Linked DNA regions of Homo sapiens: regions 1 and 3 are each linked to region 2. Evidence: promoter capture Hi-C in 16 types of primary human blood cells and fetal thymus (Javierre and others, 2016). All regions are on one chromosome and are shown on one strand. The core of a region is centred on a gene start or on the middle of the fragment in contact, and the rest is flanking DNA. Distances in the headings are between cores, read along the strand shown. Region 1 overlaps FAT3 (FAT atypical cadherin 3). Region 2 holds the start of CHORDC1 (cysteine and histidine rich domain containing 1). Region 3 overlaps FAT3 (FAT atypical cadherin 3).

Evidence for each region. Contacts are between HindIII fragments. The CHiCAGO score rates a contact against its expected background, and 5 or more counts as called.
Region 1: a contact is called between a fragment that was not itself captured here and the fragment with the promoter of CHORDC1 in region 2, in 2 of 17 cell types (M2 macrophages and fetal thymus). The highest score is 8.2, in M2 macrophages.
Region 3: a contact is called between a fragment that was not itself captured here and the fragment with the promoter of CHORDC1 in region 2, in 1 of 17 cell types (naive B cells). The highest score is 7.1, in naive B cells.

Annotation. Positions count from the first base shown.
Region 1 is chr11:92,767,366-92,772,182 of GRCh38, forward strand. All of the region lies in intron 6 of FAT3 (FAT atypical cadherin 3), which reads left to right. Among named protein-coding and RNA genes, the nearest start is that of LINC02746, 150 kb to the right of the region's middle. The HindIII fragment of the contact is 1,580 bases long and covers 906-2,485 here.
Region 2 is chr11:90,221,673-90,226,640 of GRCh38, forward strand. It overlaps CHORDC1 (cysteine and histidine rich domain containing 1), which reads right to left and starts at 1,377. Exons shown (of 11, transcript NM_012124.3): 1 at 1,219-1,377. The coding sequence starts at 1,282. It overlaps LOC124902812 (a long non-coding RNA gene), which reads left to right and starts at 1,487. Exons shown (of 2, transcript XR_007062978.1): 1 at 1,487-1,748. The HindIII fragment of the contact is 11,072 bases long and covers 1-4,515 here.
Region 3 is chr11:92,525,895-92,530,463 of GRCh38, forward strand. The region is part of intron 3 of FAT3 (FAT atypical cadherin 3); the gene reads left to right. Among named protein-coding and RNA genes, the nearest start is that of FAT3, 300 kb to the left of the region's middle. The HindIII fragment of the contact is 1,429 bases long and covers 2,050-3,478 here.

The DNA.
Region 1 (4,817 bases), core at 446-2,945, 2.5 Mb after region 2:
TTTTCTCCCTCCTCCTTGAACACTCCAGTGTCCAAGCACCTCTACAGCCTGACAGTGTCACATCTCTCCCTGGCATGATCCATGCACTCAACCTGCTGACCCGTAGTACATCCCACCTACCACCCATGTGCCCTGGGATGCCCTCACTTGTACTCTGCTTTTGAAATCCTACTGGCATGCCTTTCTGTAATGGTCAGTCTCACCAGCTGCCTGACCCTAGTTATCCAGGTCAGGCTTGCAACTCTTCATCATTCCTGCATGTGTGTGTGTGACTGTCTGTAGGTAAGCATACCTAGCAGTACTGCATGTAACCTGATTTGCAAGTTTCTCATGTCAGCATGATGAGTGCTGCTGTATGTTTTCATTTGTGCTTATCCTGTCTCCACTCTTAACCCCTATGGTTAAGGCCCATGTGTCCTCATTCCTTCCTCCTGCCAAAACCTCTGTTGCTACCAACCCAGGATGAGTGGAATAAACTATGGTGAATGATGGAGATACCCCAGGCAGCCACTATGCTAACCCTACTGATGCCTCCTGGAACCTACTCAGAGTCAGTGTGACCTTCCACTGTGCTACTGGCCACGGCAACCTACACACTATGCACCTTTGACAAAATAGAAACATCATTGGTCCAAGAAGAGAGAGGCAGTTTACAGATGAGAGCTCTCCCTGGAAGGAGTCCCTTTAAGCTACCTTAAATATAGACCCAGGATCCATCATCAAGAACATGGCATCAGTTTTCATGTTTCTTCATTGGTGTATTTCTAAATGCTATACTTTTCCTAGAGACTGCCTTCAGTTTCAGTGCACTTGTAGGTCTCTGAATGAGGACCTACAGGGTTGTCCCTCTGGTCTGGATGCTTCCATCACAGAGATTTCACTGTAAATCAGGTAACATCTAGCCAAGCTTCTTTTCCAAATTGAACTTACTGGGCCAGATGCCCAAACAGAACATGATTTTATTTCCATCCCCACATCCAGCCAACAACATCTTGAAACACCAAATCTTTATTTCAGCGCAGAAGTAAAATCCTTTTCCCAGGTGCTGGTTACTTCAGTATTGATATGGTCCACGTTCCACCAAATCCTCCTTTTGAAAATCTTTCTAATCCATCAGAGTCATTTTTTCTCAATCTGCTGACAACATCTTTCCCCTTCTTTAAATACCTATTGTTTCCTTTATCATATTCAGATGTTTTAGTCTCGCTCTCAAGATTTCCTGCTTATTTATCTTCAGCCATGGAAACTCTCATCTCTCTGTTCCCTTCCTCCTTACGTAAGCATCTTTTTTGGCCAAGCTAACATACAGAGGAAAGAGGGAACAATGCGCCTCAATGCTTAAGAAACATAGCAGTGAATGCCTGGAATAGGCACTAGGTATGTAATATCAGCATGGATCTGAAATGAGGTCTCAGATATAAGTATGGGCCTTGCCTAGGTAAATACTCTATGACTCTTCCAAGGGAGTGAGAATTTGGCTCCATTAATAGACCCAGTGCTTGCAGACACCTAAAGAGACACTGAGTTACAGAGAAGACATCATCTTGGCATGACACTTACAGCTTACTAATGCTATAACTAATAAATTCTCATTAAGTGAGCAGAAATAGTGTTTCAGCATGCTTTTCCCCTGAGAGTAAAGTCGCCCCATTTCTGCATTTCCAAATCTAGCCAATTCTTGCTTAACTGCATTTCTTTGTCTCCCACCATGATATGAATTCACAAAAGCTGGGTAGCAAGCAAGATTTTGTTCCAAGCCTGGACCCTTGCATCGAGGATCTGTCACACACTTTCTTGTGCCTCCAAGGAGACCACTGCTTACAATATTATGCAGTGAGACTTTTCAGCTTCCAGAAACAGAAGCCCTACTTGTAACTGAGTTAAGAAAGCTGTAATTAAAAGGAAACATAATAAAGTTCAGCTGTTCTGTGTTTAAACAGCCCAACGCACAGCATGTTCCTTCTCTGTGTTAAAAGGGAAAGAAAGTGAAGGGAACACAAATAACCCATAATCCTTTGTGGCTTTATCACATATCTTCACACTTCTCAGGGGACTATGATTTCAACTCCACAGCTCCTTGATTTACAGACTCTCTAATGTGCATGCAATCTGGTTCACAGTTCAGTCCCTGTATCTTTATTCTGTTGGCAAATATTTCAATAGAGAAGGCCACCTTTATTACACACCTCAGACAGTTCCTCTTTACCTGCAGATGGATGGGGGGTGCTGTCACCCATTTTTTAGCTTTTCACCTGACTTAGGGGAGAAAAATAGTTTTCTTTGTAAATAGTAAGCACCTAAAATATCTTTCTTTATCTCGCCTACTGTAAGGCTGCTCTTTGAAAATGTTTCTCTGTTGGTGAGTGATAGAACGTAGTTCCAACTCCAGTTGAAATGTCTTTCTGTGTTGCAGGAAGGCTGCTTTGACCCTTCATTTGTCATAGGTTCCTTCAAACTTTGGGCTCCAGGCTGCTGCTGTGTCATAAGCTTTTGCCTGTCTTTCTTGAACCTTGTCCCCAGTGGAGCCATCGCTTATTTAGAGATGAATGAAGTAGGCCCATTGAAGTCTCTGGTAGGACTAGCAGCAGCCTTGTTCTTCAACTAGAGCTTGGACACCTCTGGGTCTTCCCTAATCAGGTGGCTGTATTTCTCTAGCGAAAGACTCTTACCCAGTGATATGGAGAGAAACCATATTCATACGTCATTTCTATTACAGCTGCTCCTTCATCAGGGTGACCCTTGCTCCAAGTCATTCAACTGACATCAAACACTTCATTTCCCCTATTCTGCCCCTTTTCCCTAATTTGATCCCAAATAAGCCTCTCATTTTTCCATAGCAACAGTCTGGTCCATAGGAGCACATCTGTAGAAACTTCAGGAAAATAAGAAGAAGCCTAGAAACACTTCATATACTATTAATAGTTTTAAGAAAATGAATCCTAAACTCGATTCTAGAAGAGATTTTCTTTCCAGCCACTTTTTCCTGACCTCCACCTGGTGTCCCCTGTCTTCCAAGTAAATATCCTTTTCAGCCAGGTACTGTGCTTGCTTTCATTTCAAGGCAGAAAATTAGGGGAAAATGATAATTGGTGTTTAGCATTTTCAAGATCAAATTGTAACTGGTGTTTAGCATTTTTTCTTAAGTTCGGTGTACATGCGGAACCTGAATCAACAGCTTGTGCACAACTCCCTGAATTCATTGAGGTTCGGCAGCTCCGTGTTCTGGAAGCTGCTCACATAACACCTTCCCCTTGGTGACAACTAGATGTGGGTTGGTATTTTTACAATTATATGTGGAGTGGAAAAGAATCATATGCTAGGGGAGGGACCTGGAAGCTCTCTAAAGGGGAAGCTGTGTGATTCTCACCATTGGGTGTCTTTACGGAGGGACAGAGGTGCTTCGTACCCTTCTTTAAAGAAAAACTAGACTGAATCACGGCCCAGTGCTCCAATGCCCAGCATATTTAAGCAGTAGCTGCTGGCTCAAAATATTTCCATTTATGTCCCATCTTTAAAGCCTTTTGGGACATTCCTACTTGGGATGTTTAACTTTAGAATCCAATAGAAATCCATTGTGCCTCATCTGCTCTTTGTTTACTCTATTACACCTGTCTTGACCGAAAATGGTCAAAGAGACACATCCCTGATGTGAATTATCTGTTATGTGGGCTGTTCACAACCTCGCTTTTAACCATCTCTGCCGCACACCCCTGCAGCAACGCTCAGGCTGTGGCTTTTCTAATTTCCCATTTTGTTGAAACTCAGACCAGCTCTGCGGTGTCCTCCCTCCTCCCCACCTTTTGTTGAGCCTAACGCTGCTGCACTGAACACACTCTGGCTTTGCATGTTCTGTTACTGGCTCTGAGGAAGCACACCTTGTTTAAGCGGAATGCTGCTAGTGAAAATGGACTCCTTGCATTTGATATTCTCACCCTGGACGATTTGGACGTGGTTTCCTATGAAACTGAAATCACTTTCAGGCTAAAAGGGAGCCTGAAAAATGAGACCTGGGGGAGAGATATGGAGTCGTTTATGAAATGGGATGCTTAAGTGGTAGGTTATTAAATTGTGTGAGGGTTGATGGTAAACTGCTGGTCTGGATTCTGTGTCCCTTGTCAGAAATTCATTTTAAAACTCATGGAAGATTTTGTTTTACATTAAATCTTAGTTTAACTAGGAGCAAATGTCCTGGAAATGAGTGTCCGAGGCTGCTAGCTATATTGGTAAGCTGAGAGACATAGTTTGTAGGCTCTCCTTCAAATGCTCTTGGCTCTGCTCTTGGTCTGTCTCCCCTGTCCCTTTAGAGGTTTCTGTTCTAAAGAATTTGAGGGAGATATACACATACACATACACATACAAATACATATATGAACACACACAGGAAGAGAGAGAACTGTAAAAAAAAAAAAAACATAAAATTAGCCAAAAATGGTATTTGATATGAAAAACGACTAAGAAAAAGCACACACTCTATATGCCATATGTAAATGTTATACCACTAAGCACGTGCGATGATTATGTATTTTTATACAGGGCCCTGGGGAAAATGTGAGTCAAATTCAGTGAGAGAGAGCAAATTGGACTGCCCCATTTAAACAGTAACTCAAACTGGAATCTATGCTTGCTGGTTCTCTAAATTTTATTTTTAATCATCTTTAAACTGGAGCAAACTAAAGTTTTATAATTTGCATAATCTTTATTTTGACTTGACTCACACATTTTCACATTTTAAAATGATCAACATTAGAGGATGACTCCTTCCCCCACCTCCAAATAATATCATGACCCAAAGATTTAAGAAAGTTAACATTTTGGTA
Region 2 (4,968 bases), core at 127-2,626:
CTCACAATTTTCCTCATGAGTAGCATCATATTTGCATCATAAAAATGTCAGTGGCGGTAACTTGAGTATTGCATAGGTTGGATTTTCCTTTTCCTTAAAACTCTGTATCAATGGTCTTATTTTAAATAACGCTATCAATTTACCTGTGTGCCAAAAATAAGTATTTCAAACATCTCAGAGGTGAAGAGTTCAAAAGGCATCAGTTTTCATCTCCTCCACAATAATGAAGGATGTTATTAATACAACCTCATTGAACTGAGCTTCTCTATCAAATGGGTCTAATTAACATTACATGCGTCCCAGGGTGGTTATGAAGATTAAATAAGATAAAGCAATAATGGCTGGCATGCAGAAAATATAAACTAAATGCTAGTTCAATCTGAAAACGTGTTGTCACTTCTCACGATACGCAAGGAATCATCTCACTTCTTTGTCAATCAAAATTTCAATTCACTGATCATTTCCCGTCCTTCACCTAATAGTCATTTTCGCTTTGGATCCTTAACTCGACATCTAGGTGCTGTAGATGACATTCACTCATTTTATACGGGAGTAGGCATGGTAGTAAAACGTGGAGGCCACAAGAAGAACAAGCAACAAATGCCGCTAGTAATAAAAAGATAACTAACGTACCACCAGGATGAACCTATCAAAACAGCGTGAAGATACAGAGTAATGTCCCTTACCAAGAACACTTGTAAGAGGTTTGTAACAGCGGATCGACTGAACACAAACTTCTACAAGGCAGAGCTTACATGCTAGGACAACCCGCTGCTCATCCCGGCCACCTCTCCCTCTCGCGCAGGCAATCACAGCCATCACTACTTCGGGAACTACAAAGCAAGCTCACCAGTACCTCGTTAATTTTTGCTTCCCCAGAGACTGGAGGGCCAGAGGAGAAACGTGTTCGTTCTAAATTCCAGGCGACTTAAAAGGAGTGCGGGGACGACGGGGGAAACACGTGGATCCATGGGAGCGTCTCTCTCCGCAGTGGCAGAGGACAGTCAGGCGCCGGGGCCGGGCGCTCGCCAAGGGAACGCGGCGCAACAGAGGGGCGGCCGGCGGGCTGCGCGGGCAGCCAAGGGAGGCCCAGGAGGGGCATGGACCTGGGGCCGCGCGAGGACGGCTGCAGGAGATCCGCGGACACCCTCCGGCCCAAAGGGCCTCCCCTGCTGATGAGGTGGAGGGGAGGGAGGGCTGGCGGCGCGTTCCTCTTACCGTCGGAATTGGTCTCAGGATCGAAGCGCTGACCGCAGCCCCGGTTGTAGCACAGCAAGGCCATTTTCTTTTCCCACCGTCACAGGCAAGGCCCAAACACCGGGAACGGCAAGAGGATGCGTTTGCCACTCCCGTGTCGCTAGCACCGGTCTGACGACTGAGGCGGCTACCGGCTTCCGGAAACGATCCGTTGCGTTTCAGGAACCTTCGCGAATTTTCCGGTCGCGCAGGCGCAGAGGAGAAGGGACGAGGCGGAGGTAGCGGCGGGAGGCTGGCACTAGCCCGGGCCACGATAGGTCGGACTACAGCTGGTAGCAACTGGGGGTCGGAAGTGGAGCCCAGACAACAGCGGAGGAGAAATTTCCGGGGCAGAAAATGAAGGTGTCCGAGAGACTGACAATTCTCTTCTGACTTCCTCAGTGCTAACTGGCTTTGGGTATCTCCTGCAGCAAAGTGGCCGCCCCGCCCTCTCATCCCCTGCGACCCAGCACCCTTCTTCCTTGCCTTGAGGCTGCGCCTTAGACAGCCCGGTGGGTATCTGTTTACCCCTTAGCACTAAGGGATAAGTGCACAGTAAGTGCAGAATCATACAGTGTTTCCAAATCCTCAGGGTAGACGTGTGAGCTTAGTAAATGAGAGGAATAGCGGACGAACCTCTCCGTGTGTTTGTGTCTCGAGTGCCCTCATCTCAGGAGCAATTTTAATAACTTAACAGTTGCGGTCACATTACTTTGAAAATACAAAAAACGTAGAAATCAGAGTAGCAAAGAAAATTATGGATCTGATGCTGTGCCAGAATTGATCACAGTTGCTCTAAAGCCCTGGGGTAATAGTTAATATTTCATGTGAGCCTCCACTTAAACGATTTATCAATACTCAGTACACCACTCTTGGAACAGCTAGTAAAACTTCAGGTGCATTATAAAAAGTACAGTAATGCATTGGCTTCAACTTGCATATTTCCCAAACATGGGCGTTTGCAAGAAAAGCAAACACTTTTTGATAACATATACTGAAGGATCTTAAAATAAGATCAGCAGCTTATAAGTGAACCTAAAAATCTATACACTGTTTCCATTGATCTCAAGGTTATTTAGAGATCTGCTCACGTCCTCCTACCCCTAAAGACTTTTTAGTTTTTCATATTCTCTTTCTCTTCTTCTACCTAGAAGTATTAAATTTTCATATTGTGATCCACCATAGATAGGTATGTTTTCTTCATTTAACCTAACGTGAGTATTTTTCTATTTTGTTTCATAGTCATTGTTACAAATGACGGAGTATTCTGTTGAATAAATGCACTGTAATTTAACCTTTCTCTAATTTCCCCAACTTTATTATATATAAGTTACAGTGCTCAACCTGTGTATTGTTTTTCTTATTTCGAATTTCCCCCTTTAGGAAAATTTTTGGAAAGCGACAGTTCTGGGGTAAAGGGCATAAGGCTTTTTAAATAACTTTAAGATTTTAAAGATATATAGAGCCAATTGCTTTCCGAAAGGTGGTACCAATTTACAATTGCACCGGCTGTGAATGTAATAGACCGTAGAAATTGATCATACACAATTGGAAATGAGTAAGTGGAGAGCTCTAAAAAGTTTTAGTTGTGACCAAATCTGTTGTCTTGAGTATCCTAGTATCAATGCAACATTACCAGGATTGTTAGTGAACTAAACCTTTTAAATAATTTTAATGTTTATTTCTAGTTTTTCATCTGTAGCATTTTACAATCAGAATATAATTGCTTATGGTAGATAATTTGGAAAACGCAGAAGTATACTAAGAACAAAGTCAACAATAATTCCACCACCCAGCAATAAGTACTGAATGGCTAAAATAACTCTTTGGTAAATTTATTTTCAGTGTTTCCTGACACCCCAAGCATTTATAGATATATATGTTTAAAAAGAGTCGTGTTATATATAGGAGTTTATGTTCCTCCCTTGGGTATTTTGAGAAACTATAAAATTAAATCATTCTTATGATTAAGAAAAACAGTGTTACAGCAACAGCCTGTTTCAATCCCACCTCCACTTACATTTCCATTCCAACACTTCAGTGCTGACTAACACCCACTGTTTGAAAAACTTTCTAGAATTTACATGTATATTTTATATACACTTTGAATATATCTTCCCTTCCTTCTTTACCCCCATACATATCAAAATATGCTTTAACTTTGACTATCTTGTTATTAACAAAAGACTTAAATAAATATGTTAACTTAAAACAATTGTCAATTATTCTTGGTGCAAAATGAATGTTTATCATACTACTCTCTTTTTCTGCATTTAAAAATATTTCTTAAAACAATTCAGTTAAGTTTAATTAAGCTCCATTATCTTGGGCTGGGTGCTGTGGCTTACGGCTGTAATCCCAGTACTTTAGGAGGCCAAAGTAGGTGAATCACCTGAGGTCAGAAGTTTGAGACCAGCTTGACCAACATGACGAAACCCTGTCTCTACTAAAAATACAAAAAAATTAGCTGCGTATGGTGGCGCATGCCCGTAACCCCAGCTACTCGGGAGGCTGAGGCAGGAGAATCACTTGAACCGGGGAGGCAGAGGTTGCAATGAGCTGAGATCATGCCATTGCATTCCAGCCTGGGTAACAAGAGCGAAACTCTATCTCAAAAAAAAATTAATTAATAATATAAATAAATAATAATTAAGTTCCATTATCTTAAAAACGATTATAGATATGTATGTATCCATGTACGTGTATAAAATAATATTTGAAAAGACCATTAATCTCTTATAATAACGGATATGTATAAAGACAAGGATGAGTTTAAAGGAGTAAAGTTAATATTTTACTTTATACTCTTAGATATGTTTTGAAAATGTAAATACATACTCATTTTTGATATAGTTAACATTATGAAGAGGACAAAAAACCAACTTAACAATGACTATTTTTATTTGTTCTACTTTATTCGAAAGATGAAAATTTCATCCATTATGATTGTGTGTTGAGCAGTTTGTGGTTTCTGTATTTTGAACATATATTATTCATCCTATAAAGGTGCATGTCTTTCGTATTTACATAGTTTATGTTTTTAATATAAAATGACCTTCTTTGTATCATTTTGTATTTTTGTCTTGAAACCTACTTTGATATTAATGCTTCAACTTTTGCTATGTTTCTCTTTGTTTTTGCCTAATAAACCTCACCCTATCCATTTATATTTAACCTGTGTCATCTTGTTTTGGGCATATCTGCTGTAAGCAGCAGATAGATTGCATCTTGTTTTTCTTTTTTTAACTCAAATCCGAGAATCTTTTTATTTTGCAGAGAAGCTTAACCTTTTTATTTCTGATTAATGCTTGAAAGTTCAGGTGCCAAAGTGGCCCAGAACTTATTAATGGTTTTATAAGTCAATTAACGTCAATAAGCCTGAGTTTTCTTATCTGTAAAACATTGATAACAGAGTGCTGTGAAGATTAAGTTAAACAATGCATGTAAAACATATAGTCTAGTGTAAGCACTGAATGATAATTTCACAAAAGTTTAGCAATGAAAATGGTCAACTTAGATGTTTAGTCCTATTTGGTTATTTCACTTTTGTTTTCCCTTTTATATGCAGTTGTGTCTGCTTCCTTGCTTTTATTTTATTCTATTTTCTAAATAAAGTATGTGCTTGCTTTTTTATTTTGTCCACGATTTAAAAAAAAAATATATATATAGGTTTTAATTTATTTCAGCATGTATTAAGTAGTTAATGTGTGTTGGTACATTAGATGCAGGATA
Region 3 (4,569 bases), core at 1,514-4,013, 2.3 Mb after region 2:
ACCTCAAGTATTTTATAAATGTCAGACTCCCATTAATATAATGAAAGAGAATGTCAGGGTTTAAGAAAGAAAATTATTGATTTTCTCTAATTATGAGTGGATCAATCATTTTGTTAAGCAGACTTTTGCATTCTAACAGTGTTGAATCGGGATTTGACTTGTATTTTATTGTAAGACAAAGAGAGTAGTAATTATCAGTATCTGTTGAGGCCTGCTTGTACTTGCAGAAGAGGGCTCAGATTTGGAGCCTTGGCCCAACCTTTCAGAGCCCCATTAAGTAGATAAAATTCTCCATGCTTCTGCGGAACAGGCCTCCAACTTTCCTGGGAAGCCCTCCTGATTTACTTTTTGGTATGGCAAAGAGCTCCTTAGAACATAGCCACAGAGAAATGAATTCAATCACTTTGCAAATTTAAGAGTGAGGGTTGTGGTGGAGGGAGAGAGAGAACAAAAACAAAAACAAACAATGTCACAGTAAAGAAGTTGAGGCCACAGGTATCTTCACATTTCACAACCCAGTGGAGCCTGAAATACCCCAGTCAGATTCTGCTTCTTCCATCTTGATCCCATTGCTACTTGAGTCATTAATGGTAGGCCCAGCACCCTTTTTTTAAAGAATTTAATAAAAAGCTGCAAAAGGGAAGTTTTCTCTGTTCTCATCCTTTACTTAGGAATGAATAGAAAAAATAACTGTCACAGGGAAGAGGGAAGAATTTGGGTTGGATGTGAAGTTCAGAGAAGAACATGCTCATTCATGTAACTAAAGCTTTCTTTTATATGGCTTTTAAAAGTTTGAACATAATTTTTCAGAAAGCCCTGTTTTATCACTATTTGGCCTACGTTGCTAATAAGATCCTTAAGCATGTTCATAATTTCTCTCTTCTTGCCATAGATTTTTAAAAAGCATTTTTGCCAGGAATGACATTTTTGTCCAACTGATCTAATTGTCTAAAGAAATATATAGCATACCTTGTAGTTTCCAGACACATGATAAGAAAATACTGCTTTTTTATCCATTTATTCAATCACCAACCACTTATTGTACCTATTACTTTTCAAGTAAGATCTAATAAAGAGGGTTATAAACTTAAGATATGGTCCCAGCCTTAGGGACCCAAACTTATATGAACTTAACAAATACTTATGATATAGCTAAAGATATAAATGATTCCAGCAGGGGAGCTTCACTCAATATAGGGTTGGTGGGAGTGATGGTCAGGGAGGGCTTCATGGAGGAAGTCACATTTGGAGTTAGAAGTCCTGAGTTTCAAATGCTTGCTCTGTGCTTTCTAACTACGAAACACCATAGAACACAGTGGGGGAAACAGACTGTATTGCACAGTTTTCACCAGCTTCATGAACTTACCAGCTTCATGACCTTGGGGAAATTATTGAACCTCTCTTAAATGTAGTTTTTAGTGAGTAAAAATAGTTGCAAGGAATATAGGAGTCCTCACCAGAAATCCTTTGCACAGTGCCTGGTGCATTGAAATCCCACAAAAAAAGCTGATACCCCATTCTAACTACTTTACTGTAGTTACAGTCATTTAATCTCTTTGGACCTCACTTACTTATCTGGAAAATGAAAATGACCTTGCTTACTCTGCAAGGGTTGCTCATGAAGTCTGAATGTCATCATGATGTGTTTGAAGGCTGTTGGTAAACTACAGAGTTCTGTAAGAGTCATGTTATGCCTATTTCTAATGAGATTCACAGAACTCCAAGTCTGGTGAAATTCTTGTTAATGGTGTTGCTCTAAGTATCATGCTGCCTAGGGGGCAACCTTCAGCCAGCTCAAGGAACTCTCTAATAGAAGTCTTAATTTTTGGCATTTCTTCCTGACTCTAAAGTCATTTGTCTGAAATAGTTACATCAATATAACATTTTTCAGTAATGAAGCTGGATGTGTAGCTAACCAGTGTGTAGATAGATAGATAGATACATAGATAGATACATAGATACATAGACAGAGGCATACTAACCAGTATATTTAGGAAAGATTTATGCTTTAGATTTTTTTCTCAAATGGATGTTGACTCTAGTAAACTAAGCTTTCATTTCCTCCTCTGCTGTACAGTTGGAATTTTTAGAATTTGGTTTTGTTTTGGCAATGTGCTACATAATAAAGATTAAAATGATTAACGCCAACGCAAATAATGCCAAGATGTATGATATACAGCTTGTAGCAGATAACAGATGTTCCCAACCCCAAAATGGAGAGAGATTTCTTTATCGAACATCTGTTCTCTACACAAATAACTGGGTTTTTTTCTACCACATCTAGAATCACGTAGAATCAGTAGTCTGTGGACTTTCTTTAGTAATTCCTGTGGCTTAAGGAAAACAAAAGCTGTAATGCTGTGTGGTTTTTTCTGGCCGGTACAGAGAACTCTTGCTTAATTCCAGGCCAAGCAGTTAAATTCAATCAAATGCAGCCTACCCCCATGTCTGAGGTGGAGATACCATCAGGCCGGTGTTCACTTGCCTCTTTGGGTGAGCAGGAATGTTGCTTCCTTCCAGTTCGCTCAGTCGCCCAGGCTGGAGTGCATTGGCACGATCTCGGCTCACTGCAAGCTCCGCCTCCCGAGTTCACGCCATTCTCCTGCCTCAGCCTCCCGAGTAGCTGGGACTACAGGCGCCTGCCACCACACCCGGCTAATTTTTTGTATTTTTAGTAGAAACGGGGTTTCATCGTGTTAGCCAGGATGGTCTCGATTTCCTGACCTCATGATCCGCCCGCCTTGGCCTCCCAAAGTGCTGGATTACAGGCGTGAGCCACCGTGCCCGGCCTCCAGTTCTTTTGAGGGAGTCCAGGGTGGCCCTCATTGGTCATCCAGGCTGAAGTGGGGAGCAGGGGTGGAAATTTCTTCTAGGGCTTTGGAAGGTTTATTTTAGTCATGTTTACACCATGGAAACCCCATAGTACAGGGCTGACATGCCAGTGTTTAGTAGAGAACTCAATAAATGTTAACTATTACGATCATCATCATCATCCCGTATTTCCCCCTAGAAAAAAAGTCTGTGTAAGCTACAAGCACACTGCTCCTGGACCCCACTATCTTGAGGAAGACATTTCTGAAAGGCAGCCATGTCTTGCCTTAGCAATTGCTAGGTAGCACTGAAATCTTCAACTCAGTTTTATGAAGTGCATGACGTACCGTTGATCTAGACCCCAGGTGTCAGCAGGGTGGGAGACATAACAGAAATACATTGGAAGATACTTTCTGCACTCAGGGAATTTAGTCTCATAGGAAAAACAGAACCATCATACTTACCATTTAAGGCAGCTTATTTAAAACAAAAACAAAACAAAACAAAAAAAGAGTGGAGCTTTGTGGATTATAAGCTATGAACAGTGTAACATGTCAGAGCAGAGCTGAGTAACAGGGGATCTTTGCGGACCTGAAGGGGGCCTGAAGAATGGGCTGACCTGCAGAGACAGAGGCCAGATAACTATACAGGGAATATAAACAAGTGAAGCTTACCAGATAGCTTGAGAGGCATGATATTATTAGAAAGCGAATTTTAAGAGTCATAAATGTCAGGAAAGTGGTAAGATATTAGAAGTAGCAAATACATACATCTCTTTTCATTTGTTTCTGAGTTTGATAATAGTTAAATTTTAAAGGGCCTTGTTTTTTTTGTTTTGTTTTTTTTGTTTGTTTGTTTTTTCCAATCTTCCTTCTGAGAGACCTACTTCTTAAAGGAATTATTTTAAAGGGAAAAACACATACATAAAAGAGACCCCTTCATTCTTTCTTTTGTGTCTGTAAAACATAGATCCAGGATTAGCATATGCTGCATTGAGAGTCTGCCTGTGAAAGTGATTTTTGCTTAATCCAGATCTTTCAATGGTTCACTGTCCAGGGCATGGAATTTCTAAGTTTATTTCTGCAGTTGCTCTGTCTCCCTTTGACCCATGCTCCATTCACTGGCATCTCCACTTGTATTTGAGTAGAGGTGAAGTTCAGCTTTCTTTTGCTTTCTGTGAGCATCTTGAAATAAACCTGAGTAAAACATAGTTTATGTGTTGGTAGACTGGCTACCCCCACTTTAGGCGACTTAGGAGGAAGAAATCCTCTTCAAAAGTGTGTGTGCTGTAAGAATACCTCAAATTCTACCTTTAAGTATTGATTACTCCTAGGATAGACATTTCCTTTCTCTATTAAAATTGGAGGAGATAGCTTATTAAAATATTGGATGTCTTTAGTTTTTTAATCAGCTGCATATAACATCAGCATGCCTTTTGGTATATGGTATACAACATAGTGGATAAGAGAGGGGGTAACAGGGAGAGAAATCCAGACCACACTTCAACCTGAAAATTATTACCTGGTGAGCTTGCTAGACTATAGAGTCTTAGGCCAGAGCTTGATTATTTGCATTTTTAACAAGTTTCTAGGTGATGATGATGTTGCTCTCTCCTGAGAGCCTGATTAGCAAGGTTCTATATGAAACAAATGAGGGAGGTAACAAGGTGCCCAGAGACACCTGAGGACAAGACAGCAAACTTTATGAGTTACCCCAACATCTTACGGGGCTGAGGTTTGAGAGTTAATTCAGTCACCC